Regions from separate parts of the Homo sapiens genome. Here regions 1, 2, 3, 4 and 5 are each linked to region 6. The links are contacts of gene promoters, found by promoter capture Hi-C in blood cells and fetal thymus (Javierre and others, 2016). All regions are on one chromosome and are shown on one strand. Each heading gives the region's core, a stretch centred on a gene start or on the middle of the fragment in contact. The rest is flanking DNA. Distances are from core to core; before and after follow the strand shown. Region 1 overlaps ADAMTS12 (ADAM metallopeptidase with thrombospondin type 1 motif 12). Region 2 has its middle 51 kb from the start of TARS1. Region 3 has its middle 68 kb from the start of TARS1. Region 4 overlaps ADAMTS12 (ADAM metallopeptidase with thrombospondin type 1 motif 12). Region 5 overlaps TARS1 (threonyl-tRNA synthetase 1). Region 6 holds the start of RXFP3 (relaxin family peptide receptor 3).

The links. The method cuts DNA at HindIII sites, captures the fragments that hold promoters and counts their contacts. A CHiCAGO score of 5 or more calls a contact.
Region 1: a contact is called between a fragment that was not itself captured here and the fragment with the promoter of RXFP3 in region 6, in 2 of 17 cell types (endothelial precursors and total CD4 T cells). The highest score is 7.1, in endothelial precursors.
Region 2: a fragment that was not itself captured here is called in contact with the fragment with the promoter of RXFP3 in region 6 in 12 of 17 cell types (endothelial precursors, total CD4 T cells, non-activated CD4 T cells and 9 more); the score reaches 12.1 in endothelial precursors.
Region 3: a contact is called between a fragment that was not itself captured here and the fragment with the promoter of RXFP3 in region 6, in 3 of 17 cell types (endothelial precursors, naive CD4 T cells and activated CD4 T cells). The highest score is 8.5, in endothelial precursors.
Region 4: a contact is called between a fragment that was not itself captured here and the fragment with the promoter of RXFP3 in region 6, in 1 of 17 cell types (endothelial precursors). The highest score is 5.5, in endothelial precursors.
Region 5: a fragment that was not itself captured here is called in contact with the fragment with the promoter of RXFP3 in region 6 in 10 of 17 cell types (fetal thymus, naive CD8 T cells, total CD8 T cells and 7 more); the score reaches 8.7 in fetal thymus.

Annotation. Positions count from the first base shown.
Region 1 is chr5:33,528,698-33,531,484 of GRCh38, reverse strand. The region is part of intron 23 of ADAMTS12 (ADAM metallopeptidase with thrombospondin type 1 motif 12); the gene reads left to right. Among named protein-coding and RNA genes, the nearest start is that of TARS1, 89 kb to the right of the region's middle. The HindIII fragment of the contact is 1,229 bases long and covers 832-2,060 here.
Region 2 is chr5:33,490,575-33,493,493 of GRCh38, reverse strand. No RefSeq gene overlaps it. Among named protein-coding and RNA genes, the nearest start is that of TARS1, 51 kb to the right of the region's middle. The HindIII fragment of the contact is 3,346 bases long and covers 1-2,919 here.
Region 3 is chr5:33,507,937-33,510,636 of GRCh38, reverse strand. No RefSeq gene overlaps it. Among named protein-coding and RNA genes, the nearest start is that of TARS1, 68 kb to the right of the region's middle. The HindIII fragment of the contact is 2,262 bases long and covers 279-2,540 here.
Region 4 is chr5:33,549,519-33,552,218 of GRCh38, reverse strand. All of the region lies in intron 20 of ADAMTS12 (ADAM metallopeptidase with thrombospondin type 1 motif 12), which reads left to right. Among named protein-coding and RNA genes, the nearest start is that of TARS1, 110 kb to the right of the region's middle. The HindIII fragment of the contact is 6,732 bases long and covers 1-2,700 here.
Region 5 is chr5:33,454,749-33,457,516 of GRCh38, reverse strand. TARS1 (threonyl-tRNA synthetase 1) reads right to left here. Exons shown (of 19, transcript NM_152295.5): 5 at 2,451-2,572; 6 at 1,813-1,930; 7 at 1,451-1,515; 8 at 1,290-1,368; 9 at 114-260. Among named protein-coding and RNA genes, the nearest start is that of TARS1, 15 kb to the right of the region's middle. The HindIII fragment of the contact is 842 bases long and covers 1,023-1,864 here.
Region 6 is chr5:33,934,893-33,937,807 of GRCh38, reverse strand. It overlaps RXFP3 (relaxin family peptide receptor 3), which reads right to left and starts at 1,422. Exons shown (of 1, transcript NM_016568.3): 1 at 1-1,422. The coding sequence starts at 1,067. The HindIII fragment of the contact is 5,701 bases long and covers 1-2,498 here.

The DNA.
Region 1 (2,787 bases), core at 197-2,696, 410 kb after region 6:
TAAAAGAATACATGCACCCACATCTATTGATTTCTGCGACAATCAAATGGTATAGTATATATCAAACATTGCCTAGTGTGTGGTAAATGCTTAATAATTTGTATCTGTGTTTTTTCTGCTTTCATGGAGGAAGGGGTATATTAGCTTCCTGGGCTACAAGCACACATATTCATGCTGCCATAACAAATTATAATAAACTAGGTGACTAAAGACAACAGAAATCTATTCTCACAGTTCTGGAGGCTAGAAGTCCAAAATCAAGGTATTAGTAGGGCCACAGTCATTCTCCCAGCTGCTGGCGGTTGCCGGCCATCACTGGCATTCCTTGGCTTACAGAAACTGAATTCCAGTCTCTGCCTCCATTACCACATGGCTGTCTTTCCTCTCTGTGTCTGTGTCTCAGCACGGCTTTTCCTCCTCTGTATGTGTGTCTCTCTCTGTGTCTCTTCTCCTCTTTTTATAAGGACACCACTCAGGTTGGATGAAGGGCCCACCCTAGTTCAGAGTGACCTCATCTTAACTGACATCATTATTCTATCTGCCAAGATCTTATTTCCAAATCAGATCACATTCACAGATACAAAGGGTGAGGACTTCCACTCTGGGGTACATTTCAAAGGATACAGTTCAACCCACAACCTTTGGGGGGCCTCCTAGAGGTCCTTTTTATAATGGCAGATACCTTTGCCCTTAGCAGAAGAGGCTTATGCTCAATTTACAGAGCAGGTCAAGAGAGAGTATGGTGCCGTGCCCGAGTGTGTAATACAATAATGCCTGTTTGGAGATGGAGACAGAGGGGACTCATGTGGGTCAGCGCTGCCAGAAGAAGCTTTGTGGAACGGTTGCTGTCAGCTGAGCCTCCACCCTTCCTCTGTCTTTCTCCTCCTGGCCAGCAACCCTAGAGCACTCACAGACACAGCGACGAGATTGTGGGGCAAAGAGCCGCCCCACCTGTGCCCTCTCCAGCCTCCATCCACAGAGACTTCAGGAGAGGCTGGCTAAGAAACTGGGGCGGCTTTGTGATGCTTGGACTGCCCTGCCAGGGGGCTTCCCAGAGCCCGGGAAGGAAGCCTTGCCTTGTTCCGATCAGCAGTGCACACAGTGCATGGCCCAGGTCCAGTGAACAACACCCACTGCTCTGCTGGGATGAGGGAGATGAAGAGCTGGAAGGGATATTCCACAAGAGACATGCTTGGTCAAAACATGTACTCTCTGAAGTTGAATTTTGAGGAGAAAATCTGAAACAAAAAGAAAAACAAGGCCAGGCACAGTGGCTCACACCTGTAATCCTAGCACTTTGGGAGGCCGAGGCAGGCAGGTCATTCGAGGTCAGGAGTTCAAGACCAGCCTGACCAACATGGTGAAACCCCGTCTCTACTAAATATACAAAAAAAAAAATTAGCTGGGCATGGTGGCACATGCCTGTAGGCCCAACTACTCAGGAGGCTGAGGCAGGAGAATTGCTTGAACCCGGGAGGCAGAGGTTGCAGTGAGCCGAGATTGTGCCACTGCACTCCAGCCTGGGAGACAGAGGGAACCGTCTCAAAATACAAAAACGTGTACTCTCTCTCTGAAACTCCCAAGGGTGTCAGGCAATTTCCTGTGGGGTTTTAAGAGAGACAGGGTTTTTATAAGAGGCTTAAAGAAGAGGCCTGAAGAAGGAAAGCTGAAGACTCAGATTTTGGAATCTAGGAGCATTATATGTTACCAATTCCTAAGGGCACTTAAAACTTCAGCACCAAACAGGACTCTGGAAGCTAACAGAAGACATTCATTTCTTCACAAAAATAAGGCACAGTTAAGAGAATAAGGAGTTCTGAGGAGATAAAAAGAATTTTTTGCCTTTATGATCTAAAGGTGAAAAAAGCATAGAGATGCAAAGATACTGTCGCAAATTTGGGGTGGAGAGGCTATTATTTCCATTTCTACTTTTCCTGACTGTTCCCTTTACAAAGGACAGCGGCCTGTTTATGAAAGTGCTTTTCTTCAGAACTATGAAAATATTTTCTCTGTAAAGGAGAAAGAAAGATGAGAGCTCCAAGAAGTACCTAAGGCAAGCTTAAAACAACTTCACTTTCTAGAAAAAAAAAAATCTAATTGAATTCTTAACAGACCTGGAACGTGTAGGCCAGTGCCATCTGAGAACCACCCGTACAAATGTGTGGGGGTGGTCCCTGAGCAACCCACTCTCGTTCCCTGACTCATGTATGGGAAAAGCAAGGCCAAGAAAATTAAAGGACACACTTTCCCAGAGCTAGTTAGAGGAGAACAAGGGTTAGAACTCAGGTGACTAATTGTATACTTACTCTGGGAATTATTTGTACATATCTTCTGCCTTCACCTCCATGGTAAAGTTCTGCAGGGCGGGGATCACAGTTTATGTCTGTATCCCTCACTCACTCTGGAAGCATTGGTTATTATTTTTTTTCTTCTTTTTTTGAGATGAAGTTTCACTCTTGTTGCCCAGGCTGGAGTGCAATGGCACGATCTCAGCTCACTGCAACCTCCACCTTCCGGTTTCAAGCGATTCTCCTGCCTCAGCCTCCTGAGTAGCTGGGATTACAGGCGCCCACCACCACGCCCAGCTACTTTTTGTATTTTTAGTAGAGACGGGGTTTCACCATGTTGGCTAGACTAGTCTCGAATTCCTGACCTCATGATCCGCCCACGTCAGCCTCCCAAAGTGCTGGGATTACAGGCGTGAGCCACCATGCCCGGCCCGGAAGCATTGGTTATTTTGCTGACGGGTTGTTGGCTTGACACTCTGAATAGTATGATTGATTAGAG
Region 2 (2,919 bases), core at 382-2,881, 440 kb after region 6:
TCATATAATCATATAACCATAATACGTCCATTTTTTCAATGCACATGGCAGGTCAATAGCCAGACACTGAGATGCAGCAGAGAAAGAGATTGAATCACAAGGCTGGTGAACCAGGAGACAGGAGGAAATCTCAAATCCATCTCCCTGTGGAGTTTGGGGCTAGGGTTTTTTGTTTTTTGTGTTTGAGACAGAGTCTCATTCTGTCACCCAGCCTCTAGTGCAATGTCATGACCTTGGCTCACTGCAACCTCTGTCTCTTGGGTTCAAGCAATTCTCCTGCCTCAGCCTCCCAAGTAACTGGAATTACAGTCATGTGCCACCATGCCAAGCTAATTTTTTTGTATTTTTAGTAGAGACAGGGTTTCACCGTGTTTGCCAGGCTTGTCTCGAACTCCTGATCCCAAATGATCCACCCACCTCAGCCCCCCAAAGTGCTGGGATTACAGGTATGAGCCACTGTGCCTGGCTTGGGGTTACGGTTTTTAAAGGTTTTAGAGTGGGACAAAATATGGAGATCACCGACTGGTTGAAGAGTGCAGTATAGAGTCACAGGACAGAGAGGTGGAGAAACTGTATTCTCACGCTGATTTCATTTCTCTGGTTGGTGTCAGCTGTTTTGCTGTAATTCAGGATTTGAAAAACATCTTAAATAATCCTTACACAAAAGTTTTATGATTCTAACATCAGAAATCCTATCTATAGGAACAATGGGAATGCAAATGGTCAGTATCTAATGCTATGTGACTTTTGGTTACAAAGAAATGGGCCAAAGTGCAGCCCAATTGATGCTTAATCATAACTATATTTCTGTACAGAATTCTTGTTAACCTGATAAAGATGGCTTTAGTCAGCTTTCACAACAGTTGCTCCACTGGTCCAGGTTGGATGGGTTATTTCATTGTTTGAAGGTCAATGCTGCTCTCCAACTGGCCTGTTCAATATGACTCTATCCTTCCATATACTGGTAGTATCTTTCTTCTTCTGTCCCCTTAAACCTAGAGATGGTGAAAATTCTGTTGCTACTATCACTTGTGGTTCTCTTGCACCAGCCATACCTTTTTAACTAGTCCTTCTTGTAAATAAATCCCCCTCAAATCATGCAGGGTCTAATTATGCCATCTCTTTCTTTTTGGGACCAAGACTAATTAATGTACACTCATTAGGTACAAGTGAAACCACCTTTGTAAAGGTTATGACAGTAAGAGAAATCTAGCATGGCAAACTCCATCTTGCTTCCAGCTTCACATGCTGGCTGATCTCACTCATTTCTGGGCATAGGCCAAGCTAACCATGGGAAGAATTCAGTTTATAGTTTAACTTTGAAGCAAGGATAATTATAGTCCCTCCCTTAAACTAACCTCCCTCCTTGCTCAAGGACCAAAGCTGCCTTTGTAAAACAAATGAAAGGTCACAAGATTAGGACAATGGAAGGGGCCTGAATTCTGCTAAAATGTAAGCATAGTTCCTATAATCCCTTACAGTTCAAGAGTCATGTGGTCAGAGGTCACAAGATTTGTGAATTCCCCAGTTGCTCCTATAGATAATATCACTATTGTAGAACTTAAGATTGGTCTTTTGAGATGTTTTTCAGACTTTTGCATTCTGTCAGCTGATTGACTCTACCTGGACCCAGGACTCATGACTCAACCAGAATTGTGGCCCCTGCCTAGAGGTGGACTCAATGTGCAAGAACTGTTTTCCATACCCTTATGATTTTATCTCCAACCAATCAGCAGCACCCATTTCCTAGACCCTTGATCACCAAATTATCCATAAAATCTCTAGTTCTCAGGGAGACTAATTTGAGTAATAATTCTAGTACTTCTGCTTGGCTAGCTCTGCATTAATTAAGCTCTTTCTCTACTTCAATACCACAGTCTCAGTGTATCGTTTTTTGTCTATGCAGAGAGCAGAAGAACCCATTGGGTGATTGCATAGAAGGCAAGATGAATTCTCCCATCGCTTCCTGTCTATACTGAACAAGTTTTAGCCAGGACGAAGAAAGGGGATGTAAGGAAATACTAACAATAATATCTACTGATACTAGCCAGGCATTGTCAAATAAAAACTAAATCTGCACTTAGATAAGGAGAAATTTTATTTTTAAAGATTACTTCAAGAAGTAGAGCTGAGAGGAAAGAAGGGATTTTGCAATAGGAGGAGGGAGACTACTGCAACAGGGAGAAGTCTTCGACAAGATCTGCAAATTCAAGAGTTAGGCAAAATGGTAGGTCAGGCATGGTGGCTCATGCCTGTAATCCCAGCACTTTGGGAGGCCAAGATAGGAAGATTGCTTGAGGAGTTCAAGACCAACCTGGGCAATATAGTGAGATCCTATCTATACAAAAAAAATAATAATAATTAGCTGGGTGTGATGGCGCGTGCTGTAGTCCCAGCTAACTGAGCTGATTGGGGGGCTGAGTTGGGAAGGATTGCTTGAGCCTGGGAGGTCAAGGCTGCAGTAAGGTATGATTGTACCACTGAACTCCAGTCTGAGTGACAGAGTCAGACCCTTGGCTAGAAAGAATCTGGGGTGGGACAGAGGAATGAAAGAGTGAGGTGGCTAATCTGATAGTAGATCAGAGATTGCTTGACCCTGGAGCCAGCCTATTTTCAGAAGGTGCTGTTAAGAAGGAGTTGTATGCTAGCTCAGGCTAAGGATGGGTCAAATTCTGGGATCTAGGAGAAGGAGATAATCTTAACCAAAGTTTGATTAACAAGAACTTTGTTCAGATTTAGATTCCATGGTCACAAGCAGTTCAGCTAGTCATTTACGAGGCAGAGAATAGGAATTTAGAGGATCTTTGTCTGGCCTTGTCAAAGGTGAAAGAAACCAAATATCTCCCCTGAAAATATTTCTCCTGGGTATGATGAATATTTTAAATTAAAGGCCCTTAAAGATCAACAGAGAGCTAGAAA
Region 3 (2,700 bases), core at 160-2,659, 430 kb after region 6:
ACACACAATGGGGGAAGGATGGTCCCTTCAATAAATGAGAAAACTGGATATTCACATACAAAAGGATAAAAATGTACCTTTATCTCACCCCTCATACAAGAACCAATTCAAAATGAAATAAGATGTAAACATAAGACCTAAAACTATAAAATTACTGGAAGAAAACATAGAAAAAGCTCCATGACATGGTCTGGGCAGTGATTTTTTGGATATGACCCCAAGAGCACAGACAACAAAAGCAAAAATAGACAAATGGGATTGTGTCAAACTAAAAAGCTTCCGTACAACAAAGGAAACAATTAATAGCGTGAAGAGACAAGCCCCAGACTGGGAGAAAATATTTGTAAATCATTCATAAGGGGCTAATTAATATCCAAAATACACAAGGGAAATCAAACTATTCAATAACAAGAAAACAATCTTACTTACAAATGGGCAAATGACTTGAATAGACATCAAAAGAAGATGTACAGATGGCCAATAGATACATATTTTAAATGCTCAACATCTGTAACAATAAGAGAAGTGCAAATTAAAGCCACAATGAGCTATATCACCTTATACATGTTAGATAGGCTATCATCAAAAAGATGTAAGATAACAAGTGTTGGTGAGGTTTTTGAGAACAGGCAATCTTTATACACTGTTGGTGGTATTATAAATTAGTACAACCTTTTTGGAAGACAGTATGGAGGTTCTTCAAAAACCTAAAAATAGAATTACCATATGATCCAGCAATCCCACTACTAGGTATATACCCAAAGGAACTAAAATTAGTATGTGGAATAGATATCTGCACTTCTACATTTATTGCAACATTATTCACACTAGCCAAGATGTGGAAGCAACCTAAGCATTCATCAATGAATGAATACATTTTTATTTTTTTATTTTTTGAGATGGAGTCTCGCTCTGTCGCCCGGGCTGGAGGGCAGTGGCGCGATCTCGGCTCACTGCAAGCTCCGCCTCCCAGGTTCACGCCATTCTCCTGCCTCAGCCTCCCGAGGAGCTGGGACTATAGGCGCCCACCACCACGCCTGGCTAATTTTTTTTTTTGTATTTTTAGTAGAGATGGGGTTTCACTGTGTTAGCCAGGATGGTCTCGATCTCCTGACCTCGTGATCCGCCCACCTCGGCCTCCCAAAGTGCTGGGATTACAGGCTTGAGTCACCGCGCCCAGCCTGAATGAATAGATTTTTAAAAGGTGGTATACATACATACAATAGAATACGGTACTATTCAGCCTTTAAAAAAAGAAACGAACAACAACCAAAAAAAGCAAGAAATTCCGTCATTTGTGACAACATGGATAAACATAGAGGACATTACATTAAGTGAAATAAGCCCAGGCACAGATACTGTATGATCTCACAGCATGTGGAATCTAAAACATTCAAACTTACAGAAATAGAGTGGAATAGTGGTTACCAGAGGCTGCTGATTGAGTTCCTTGAAGCAAAGGTTTAGAGACTCTGGTGATGTTTTTCATACTCAGAGTGTCCTATCAATAAGGGCATGCATGAGCATGACCTGAGTATTTTGCCAGACTTCCTTAGTGGTCCAGATAGTGGCTGGTCCAGGGAGAGATCCAGCCTATGCATGGACTGCTGTAGTGATGAGACTTTTGAAGTACATATCAAATCATTGGGCTTTAACTCTCAATACTTTTTCAGATCCTTGGCGGGAGAGGGGTGGGAAGGCCAGCTACAAAGCAACCTAGGGTTCCAATAAGGATCTGAGCAGTTAGGATTTAATTCTCAGTGATGCCACATCAGGAAGTAGAGGGTTGTGGCTAGATAGTTTTAAAAAAAATTGAAGAATTGGAAATTTGGTAACAGTTGGCAATGAATGGAAGATGACAGGATTCAGTTCAATTTACAGGTAAGTAACATGTTAACATATTTTGGAGATTTTTTTCATATTCATTAGTTACCTACAATTAACAAAGAGATGTTATATAGCTCAAAAACTATGAATATGATCAGAATCTGATAATCCACAATAGTGTGCTATAATTTTCTATGAAAAACAAAATTTTTCTCAACAGTTACCCTTTTATGATCAAAGATAATCCCAAAGAAAAAATGTTCTTGATTATAAAATAGGGCCGATATCATTAGATTTGGCCTGATCGTTTACATAAATACAGCAAGAAAGGTAATTTATACCATAATAGACCTTTTTTAGTTTGCTTTACTGAAGTTTTTCATAAGGAATCTGAGATTAGACTTCTAAAAGCACGTCAAGGCTAGGAAGCCATGCCAAGAACTCACTACCAGACTTTACCTGCAGTAGCTTTAGATTTGGATGAACTCCTGTCTTCTCAAGGTTTCCAAAATATTGTAAAGTTCCTGGGCCTGCCAGGATGTGACCTTCCTTACTCACCTATAAGGCTGGGAACTCTGTAAGCCAAGTACCAGGCTGGGTTTTCCCAAGAGAGTTTTGTAGGCATTAGCTACATAAAATCAGCCTTAGCTACTAACAGTTGATTCTATGTTTCTATGATCATCATTCTCAAATATGACACTTCAGTCAAAGCTTTGGTTTATATAACCAATGTTTCTAATTATTTCCTGTTAACAAAGGGGTCAGACTCATTGAATCTATGCAGAAAAATTATGTTGTCATGAAATAAAAATATAAGAATTTGCAAATTCTGGAAGAATCAAGCCAAGGAAAAAATATAATTGTTTCAGTTCT
Region 4 (2,700 bases), core at 201-2,700, 390 kb after region 6:
GTACTAGGATTTCATAAATCAAAAATAGCACAAGAAAGAAAAGGTTTTGATTTCATTTTACCTCTGCCAGTGGCCCCAGTAAGCTAAGGATATTTTTCATTCTAACTCAATTTGCTGTGCAAATCACAGGAATTAAACAAACTGATGTAGTGATGTGGTAACTGGATACTATCAGACCTGTTTGGTTTCAACAGGGCATTTACCAGTCTTTCTGTTCTCATTAGCCTGCCTCTTGTCGTCAGTCTGGTTCGCAGGCTTTACATTAGGAAAACAGGAATACAAACGGCCTTCCTCTCAGGCAATAAGAAAATGAATATAACATAACAATTGTCATTCAGCACACAAAAGCAAAAGAGCGTTAGGACTGGAGTGACTTAATATGCTGTCACTTCCCTCTTGCTAACAGAATCAGAGGCTCTTTTGAAAATGGAATAGAATAATGATAGATTTAGTGAGTGTCTTCCCTTATTACTGACTTCAGCATATTAATAAATTTTATTTCCCACTGAATGTGCACATGCTCTTGACAAAAGAGTAATGCTAATTTGAAAAATAAATTTAGGAATAACAGATTATAGCAACAAATAGAAAATAAAAAAGTAAAATCTCATTTTATGCTTATGTCTTTTAAATCCCCTTTTCCTAATAAAAAGTACTCTTGTTTTAACTATGGGCTATTTCCTGGAAATTTATTTTGTCAGACAAATAGTTGCTTTGAGTGGAAGCTATTAGCATGCTTTCTCATTTGTTCTATGGCAAATTTTAAGTTTGCTGTTACTGTTTTTCTTTGTGTGCTTACTGTGTGGCAGGAAAACAAAGTTTTTAATTTGCACTTTTGGGAAGCTGTTGGCAAGTATTGCTTATTTCTGATAATCTAAACACACTTGATTTATGGAAGTACCAGAGCATCAATCTGTCCCCTCATCACATGGGCCCATGTGTTTCCAAAATACAGACCAATGTTTGAAGTCAGGTGACTTGGTGAAATCTGCCAATCAGAGGAATAAAGGGGAGCAGTATTTGGGGTCTATGTCTACTGAAAAGTCGTGAGGAATTTTCTTTCCTCAACCACAGCCCTAGAATCATGGCTATTCCACCATAGCCAGAAAGACAGCATGGTCTTTTACCCTTCAGAGAGAAGAGCCAGATGAAAATATACCTTACAGCAAGGGATACCCTTTCTTGGTGACTTGTTTCCTCAGCCAAGACTGCCAATGAGATCATTGATGGAAGGATTCAGAGGGTAAAGAAGCACATTCTTTATCCTATGATTACTGGAGATCTCTTTAGCCCACTGGGAGCCCTCCCAGCTGGCATTTTCTCATAATTCAATGTTGATTCAACAGCTTCATAATGGCCATCTACACTGTGTCTGTCCCTGTGCTAGGGATCCATGGTGTGATGCGGAACAGGGCAGGGCAGGGCAGGCTCTGCTTTCATGGCAGTGATGGATAGTAGAAAGGATGGACAAAATCAATCAAAGTTGCTCTGCAGTTTAGCTTTGTGGGATGAAAACAGAAGAGGAGCTGAGACAAATTACAAGAGAAATCACCTCCTTTAGATCAGGTATTCCATGAGAACCTCTCAGAAGAGGTGCCATTGAAAATGAGGCATTAAAAAAAAGCAGTGATGGGTAATGCAGAGAATAGAGGAAGGAACATTCAGGACATGGGAACCCCAAGGACATTGTATTAACCCGAGGAGAACCTGGGGAAGAACCTGGGCTGACGAGCACAGATGTTAGCCTCCATCCCACCTACCTCAGGTCCCCACCTCAGTGTGGGCAGTAACAAGACTGGTCAGGCCAGGTCTGGCCATGAGACACCAGGCTGCAGAGGGAAGATAAGCAGAAGGCCTATGGCAAGCACTAGAGTTCTAAACAGACCAGAGAGCAAGTCCTAGAAGCACAAGTTATGATCAGATAAAATCTTTGTAGGTCAGGGAGTGGGGAGCTGCCAAAATCCAAGAAGTCAGAGAGTCAACAAAAGCAGCACTCTGGAACAGGCTGTGCAAACTTGGTTGTAGGTGACCCAGACCCATCAGTGTTTATCACGGTCCAAGGGAAATCAGCAGCCTGCTGGTGAACCTGGGCTGCTGCACAAGGGGTGGGGTCAGAGAGGAAGGGAGTGAGTAGGGCCTGTGTAGTGGCTATCGGGGGCAAGTGCTGAGAAGACTCTCAGTGATGGCTGCACGTGATGGTGCTGCAGGAGGAATGGTGACGGTGGAGGCAAGGACAGTGTTTGCTCACACCCATGAGTCAAACCACTGAGTAGTTAATTCAGTTTATTTCCCTACTCAAGGCCCTTCATGAGAGAGACATAGTAACCTATTCTGCATCCAGCATCATAGAGAAAACCAGTATTCTGAAGGAAAGACGGACAAGGCTTAGCAGCCATGCCCACTCCTGGGAAGGGATAGGCAGGCCACTCTGCCTCTAGTGAATACTGACTTCCAGACGGAATGGCCACCCACTGGGGCAGATGCTGTGCCAGCAGGCACTCCAGCCCCAGGGTCTATAATCTCCCCACAGCTGGGAGGTAGCAGTTATGATCCCAGTTTAGAGATGGGACACCTGAGGCTCAGCGTACTTCAGTGACAGGCCCAAGGGCTCAAGACTAGCGAGTGGCAGAAACACTCCTATGCATGTGTTTCCCGACATCGGGAGCTGCTGGGGTGCCTCCTGCTCTGTGGTGTGGGAGG
Region 5 (2,768 bases), core at 194-2,693, 480 kb after region 6:
AGCCACAACATCTCTTCAAAACAAAATTCCTAGTACTTCATGCAGCTGAATTTCAAACTTCAAATGAAGTTGAAGAAAACTCAGTCAAGACACATCATTGTTCTTGAACATACCCTGCCAATTTTCCTATGATCTCGGTTTTTAGCTTCCTCTTGGAACTTCTCCCACTCTTTCAACATTTTAGGATCTGGGAATGAAATGCCATAAATTCTCTGGAGAGTCTCCATATCTGCTTTGCCTTCCCAGTACGTGGAGGAATTCTGAAAACAAGGATTAACCATGAAACAACATTCAAATTTGTAAACATCTCACTTATTTTAACTCCCAATTGCTTTGAGGCCTTGTTAGAGTAGTTACTCATTCTGCAGCACAAAGTTGGCTGTTTTCTATCCTCAAAAATGCCCCTCCCTCAATCTGCAGGTGGGTGCAGTGGCTCATGCCTGTAATCCCAGCACTCTGTGAAGCCGAGGCAAGAGGATTGCTTGAGCCTGGGAGTTCGAGACCAGCCTGGGAAACACAGGGAGACCCCATTCTTTATTTAAAAAAAAGAAAATTACCCAGGCATGGTGGTGTGCGCTTATGGTCGCAGCTACTCAGGAGGCTAAGGCAGGAGGACTGCTTGAGCCTGGAGTGCAGTGGCACGATCTCCATTCACTGCAACCTCATTTCCCAGGCTCAAGTGGTCCTCCACTCTGTCTTTTTGGGGCAACAGAGTGAGACCCATTCTACACCCCAATACCCCCAAAACTGCCCACCCCTCAATACTCAACCACAATTCCACAAACATTACTTTGCCTGCAAAGGCATTTCTCACAAAATGAGCAAAAATAGAAATGAGCCAATAAAAAAAAAATCTTGAAATGACTCAATTATTCTCTTGATTTAAAGTGCATTTTAAAAACCTCCATAAAATGTTTATGAACTAGTATAAAACTGGGTTCTGTTAAAAACAACAACTTGGGAAATTATTAATTTAGACATATAAAGGGCAAAAGCACATACTCCCAGTGAGTCTCAAAGCTTTTATAGAGCCAGGATGGCCCATGCTGTATGATTTTGTAAAATCTCCATCCCCTGTGATTGCTCTGGCAATGACAGCAAGTCAGTCACCCCTTGAGGGATTTCAATTATAAAATCCTGATGGCATACAGCTCCCAGTTAATAGAGAGCATGAGAAAATACCATCCTTTCATGTGCAACAGAAAATGGTAAAGAGAAATCAGTGAAAGTTTAAACATATATCTATTCTAGACAGATACATTCACAGTCTTTAAAGTTACATTACTTACTTTGTGTATTTTTAAAGCCTTAATTTTGCCCGTGTGTCTAACATGAGGACCCCGGCAGAGATCTATCAAAGGGCCACATCTAAAGATAAAATGAAAGGAATTTTAACAAAGACAAAATGACATACATACCAGATACATTTAATGACATCTAATATTCTTACCTATAGACTGTGGTAGTTGGAGTATTCACCTTTTCATTCAATATCCGGCATTTGAACTTGTTGTACTGAAAACAGGAAAAATTATTATTTTAAAAAACTGTCCTTTAATTTTTACTTCTAAGTACTATAGCTAAAACGTAGCACTGTATGAATATAAATGTTGATACTTCATGTTTTAAAAACATGTTGAAGGAATGGTTTGCTAGGAAAAAAATGAAATTAAAAAAATAATAAAAACACTTAATTTTTGCTAAAGAACCAATTAGACTTCAGCTTAGTACACGGAACGCCAGTGGTGTCACTTCAACTAACATGAATAAATGATATTAACAGTGGGGGCCACGCACTATGGTTCAATTTACCTTAAACATTGCCAGTAAAGTTTCTTTCTTAACTTCCAGTCTTTCAAAAGCTTGTTTTTCTTTAATGATTTTCTTACACAAAGCCTCCAGAGAAGAGAAATCATTGCTAGACACACCCCTGAAGGAGAAGAAAGTATAATCTTTTCATTCCATTCGAATCACACCATGGCTTCGAAAAATGTTCATTTGGAAATAGTATTTGGAATACTTCAAGGGTTTTAATATTAAAAAATTAGACTATTGCATCGTATCTTAGAATTCTAAACAAAACATTTTTCATAAGTAATTTTTACATTTTATATTTTCAGTAGCTTCTACCTTGGTCATCCATGGAGACCTTTCTCACTAGTGACCCCTTCCCGCAACTCTATCACCAGGTTTTAAAGGAGAGGGGAGGACCAGTCTCCCTGAATTTCCCAAAATACCTTAGGACTCTACCTCCATCAATCTAGAACAGAGGTCTCATCAAATCCTCTATTACTTCAGGTAAATTGCAACACTTCAAGTACTGATAATGGGCATACCTGATGAAGAAGCAGTGAGATCTATATCATTCCTCCCTTACTGAGAACTCTTAAGAATAACTTATGGATCCATAGTCATTGACTTCAGTTTTCTTTATCTAGTTGATGGCTTACCCTTCTTCGAGGTACATGTCATAATAGAATCCATTTTCTATTGGCGGACCGTAGCATAAACATCCACCATAGACTCTTTCCATGGCTTCACCCATTATGTGAGCACTAGAGTGCCAATACACCTGAAAATTTAAAGAAAAATGGCATGGTCTGAGTCTTGGCATACAAGTTGCCAATTAATGTGGTTGTCTGAAAGAGACAGATGATAATATTTACTACAAGTAAACCCAATATATAAAATCCTAAATTTCTAAATCTATAAACTACTGTTTCTATCCATAGCCAAAGTAATTCAAAAGGCTTCCAATTACTAGTGTA
Region 6 (2,915 bases), core at 173-2,672:
GCGTTGAACTTGATGAGGATGCTCCAGGTGGTGAGCGCCTGGTTGGGCAGCCAACACAGGAAGAAGGACAGGACAACGATGGTCACTGATTTGGTGACCTTCGACAGTCTCCGGGCGCTGGCTCCGGTCGGGCGTCCTCCGGCTACCGCGGCCCCTCCTTTGGTCCCCGCCGCGCGGCGGTCGGCGATGAAGCGCACCAGCAGCAGGTAGCACAAGATAATGATGCCCAGCGGCAGCACGAAGCCCAGCAGCACCTTCTGCGAGTGGTAGAGGCCCAGCCAGAACTGCCTGTCGCGGCCCAGCAACTTGTCCGGGAAACGCACCAGGCACAGCTCCTCGCCCATCACCTTGACCGTGGTGGAGAAAATGGCACTGGGCAGCGAGGCCAGCGCGGCCAAAGCCCAGATCCACACACACAGCGCCTTGGCCGAGAAGCAGCAGCTGTCCCCCAGGCTCCGGCCGCAGCAGTCGCCCCGGCCGTGTCCTCGGGTCCGGTGGCTCTTCAGAGCCGAGGCCACCGAATGGTAGCGCGTCACACTCATGGCAGTGAGGAAGAACACGCTGGCGTACATGTTCATGGACGTCACCATGGACACGATCTTACACATGGCCTTGCCGAAGGGCCATTTGAAGTCAAGAGCGTTCTCCACCGCCCAGAAGGGCAGGGTGAGCACAAACTGAAAGTCCGTCAGCGCCAGGTTGGTGACGAAGAGGTTGATAGAGGACTTGCGCCAGCCCTGCATGCTCTTCATCAGGTAGAGAACCAGCAGGTTGCCCGCCAACCCCAGGGCGCACACCACCCAGTACACCACGCTGATGAGAATCCGCACCCGGGCCTCTGTGTCCGCGCTCTCTGCCCCGCCGCTGCCCGGGGGATGTCCTGGCGGCGCGCCGTCCGGCAACTCCAGCCCCAGCTCCCACCACAAGTCCGGAAGCTGCAGCGACGCGTTACCACTCGTGTTGGCCGCCTCCAGAAGGTCCGGGACCAGACTGAAGAGTTCTGCTAGCTTGTCCCCGCCTGCTGCCTTATTCATGGTGGCTATCGTGGCTGCATCGGCCATCTGCATGCGCAGGTACCTCTAGGTCATGTTCTGGGGGACAAGACCTAAGATAACACGGTTTACCCCAGTTTTGTTGCCAGGCTAGCCTGCGGGACGTGCGTGGGAGCTTTCAAAGCAGCTACTGAAGAGAGAGCCCAGGAACTGGGTACTAAGCGCGTCCTGGCGCGCAGCGAACGCCCTGGACGCAGGAGTTGAGCTCAGCGGCTGCTTTGGAGCAGAGTTGAGGAGTGCAGCCCGTAAGGCAAGCACTCGGCGTCCAAGGGTTCTCAGGCCAAGCTCGGAGTCCCTAGGTCCTTATGTACAACGCAGACTTCCCCTCTCCGTGTCCCGCGGTCACTGGGGCACTGGCGCATAACTCCCCCAGCCGCTCAATTGTGCGATTTGGGGCCGCTCGCTCCCTTTCAAATACCTTTATCCGTTTCCTCTGGGACTGCTTGGATGAGGTTTCCGTCCTTGGAGAGAAAGAGATCGTAGAGTTCCATCCACCACGCTCAGCTTCCTGGAGGTCAGTGGGTGTCTGCGTCTCTCCGCGGTTGTCAACTCCGGGTGGGTTGCCAGCGGCTCTCACCAGTTACGGTGGCACTTGCACGGCCAAGGCGGCGGGCCCCAAGGAGCATGCGTAATCCCGGGGCGCCGCGAGGGGCGCTTTCCGAGGTGCTGAACCCAGCCGCGCCCGCGCCGCGAGGGAGAGTTGAGCTGCAGGCAAAGCCCACCCGCCACTCCAGTTTTCCTCTCCAGAGTTTCAGCAGGAAGGGTCTTAAGAGTTTATTTTACAGCTGCAGGAGAAAGTCGGCTTTGACGTGAGTTTCTTCTTCCTTTCTTATTCCCAAACATTATGATTAGAAGTTTTTTTTTTCTTTCTTCCTCACTCCCACTTTTCACCGGAATTATTCCATTTGGTGAGGAATTGTTCTAAAAATATGAGCTATCCTGCTTACTTTCCTTCTTGAAAGTAATAACAGTGGCCTCTTTTCATGCTCAAATGAGATAATGGGTACTTATTGGATACACAAAGGACAGCTCCACCTCCCCTCTTTAATTAGCTGACCACTTACGCAGTACCTGTGTTTGTCAGGATTTTCAAAGGGTCTTCACATGGCAGAAGTCTGGGCTCAAGGGTTGCCCCTACTTTAATGTATTCTGAGAGGTGACACAAAAACAGAGCAAACAACTGATGGTCCTACTTCACAGAAATTAAATGCCCTAAGCCCAAAGCGCTTCAACAAATTGTTTGATCACATACAGGCCACAGTCTCTTTACCTAGATGCAAATAGAATAGAGGATACCACTGGGCTGATCGTGAACCACCAGCCCTCCTATTTCCATTACTGTTAGCATCAGGACTCTTTTTCAGGCGTTTTTCAGACCAATGGAAGTACATTCTAAGGACTCTTCCAAGGGAATGAGTGGAAACCACTTGAATTACTTCTCAAGCTTCAGTCTACATAAATGCCAGGTCAATCGCTCTGGTGTAAATTACACTTTTAGGATTTACTTTAAAATTTTGAAATGTTTTCCTCTTGGTCTGGGACTAAACTGAAACCAAAGTTTCTTAAGCATAATTGTCCTCACTCCTGGAGTACTACAGAACTCCCAGCTTTACTTAAGGAGATAAAGAGGATGCAACCTTCAAGCTGAGGAGATAAGAAACAGAAAAAGAAAGAAAGAGAAAAACGAAAAAGAAAGAAAGAAAGAAAGAAAGAAAGAAAGAAAGAAAGAAAGAAAAGAAAAGAAAGAGAAAAAGGAAAAAAGAAAAAAAAAGAAACAAGAAACAATCTTGATTCCAAAGGACTTTTAGCCCTGAAGAGCACACACCTTGCTACGGATGCTGCACAGCTCCGTCTTCCCACTAG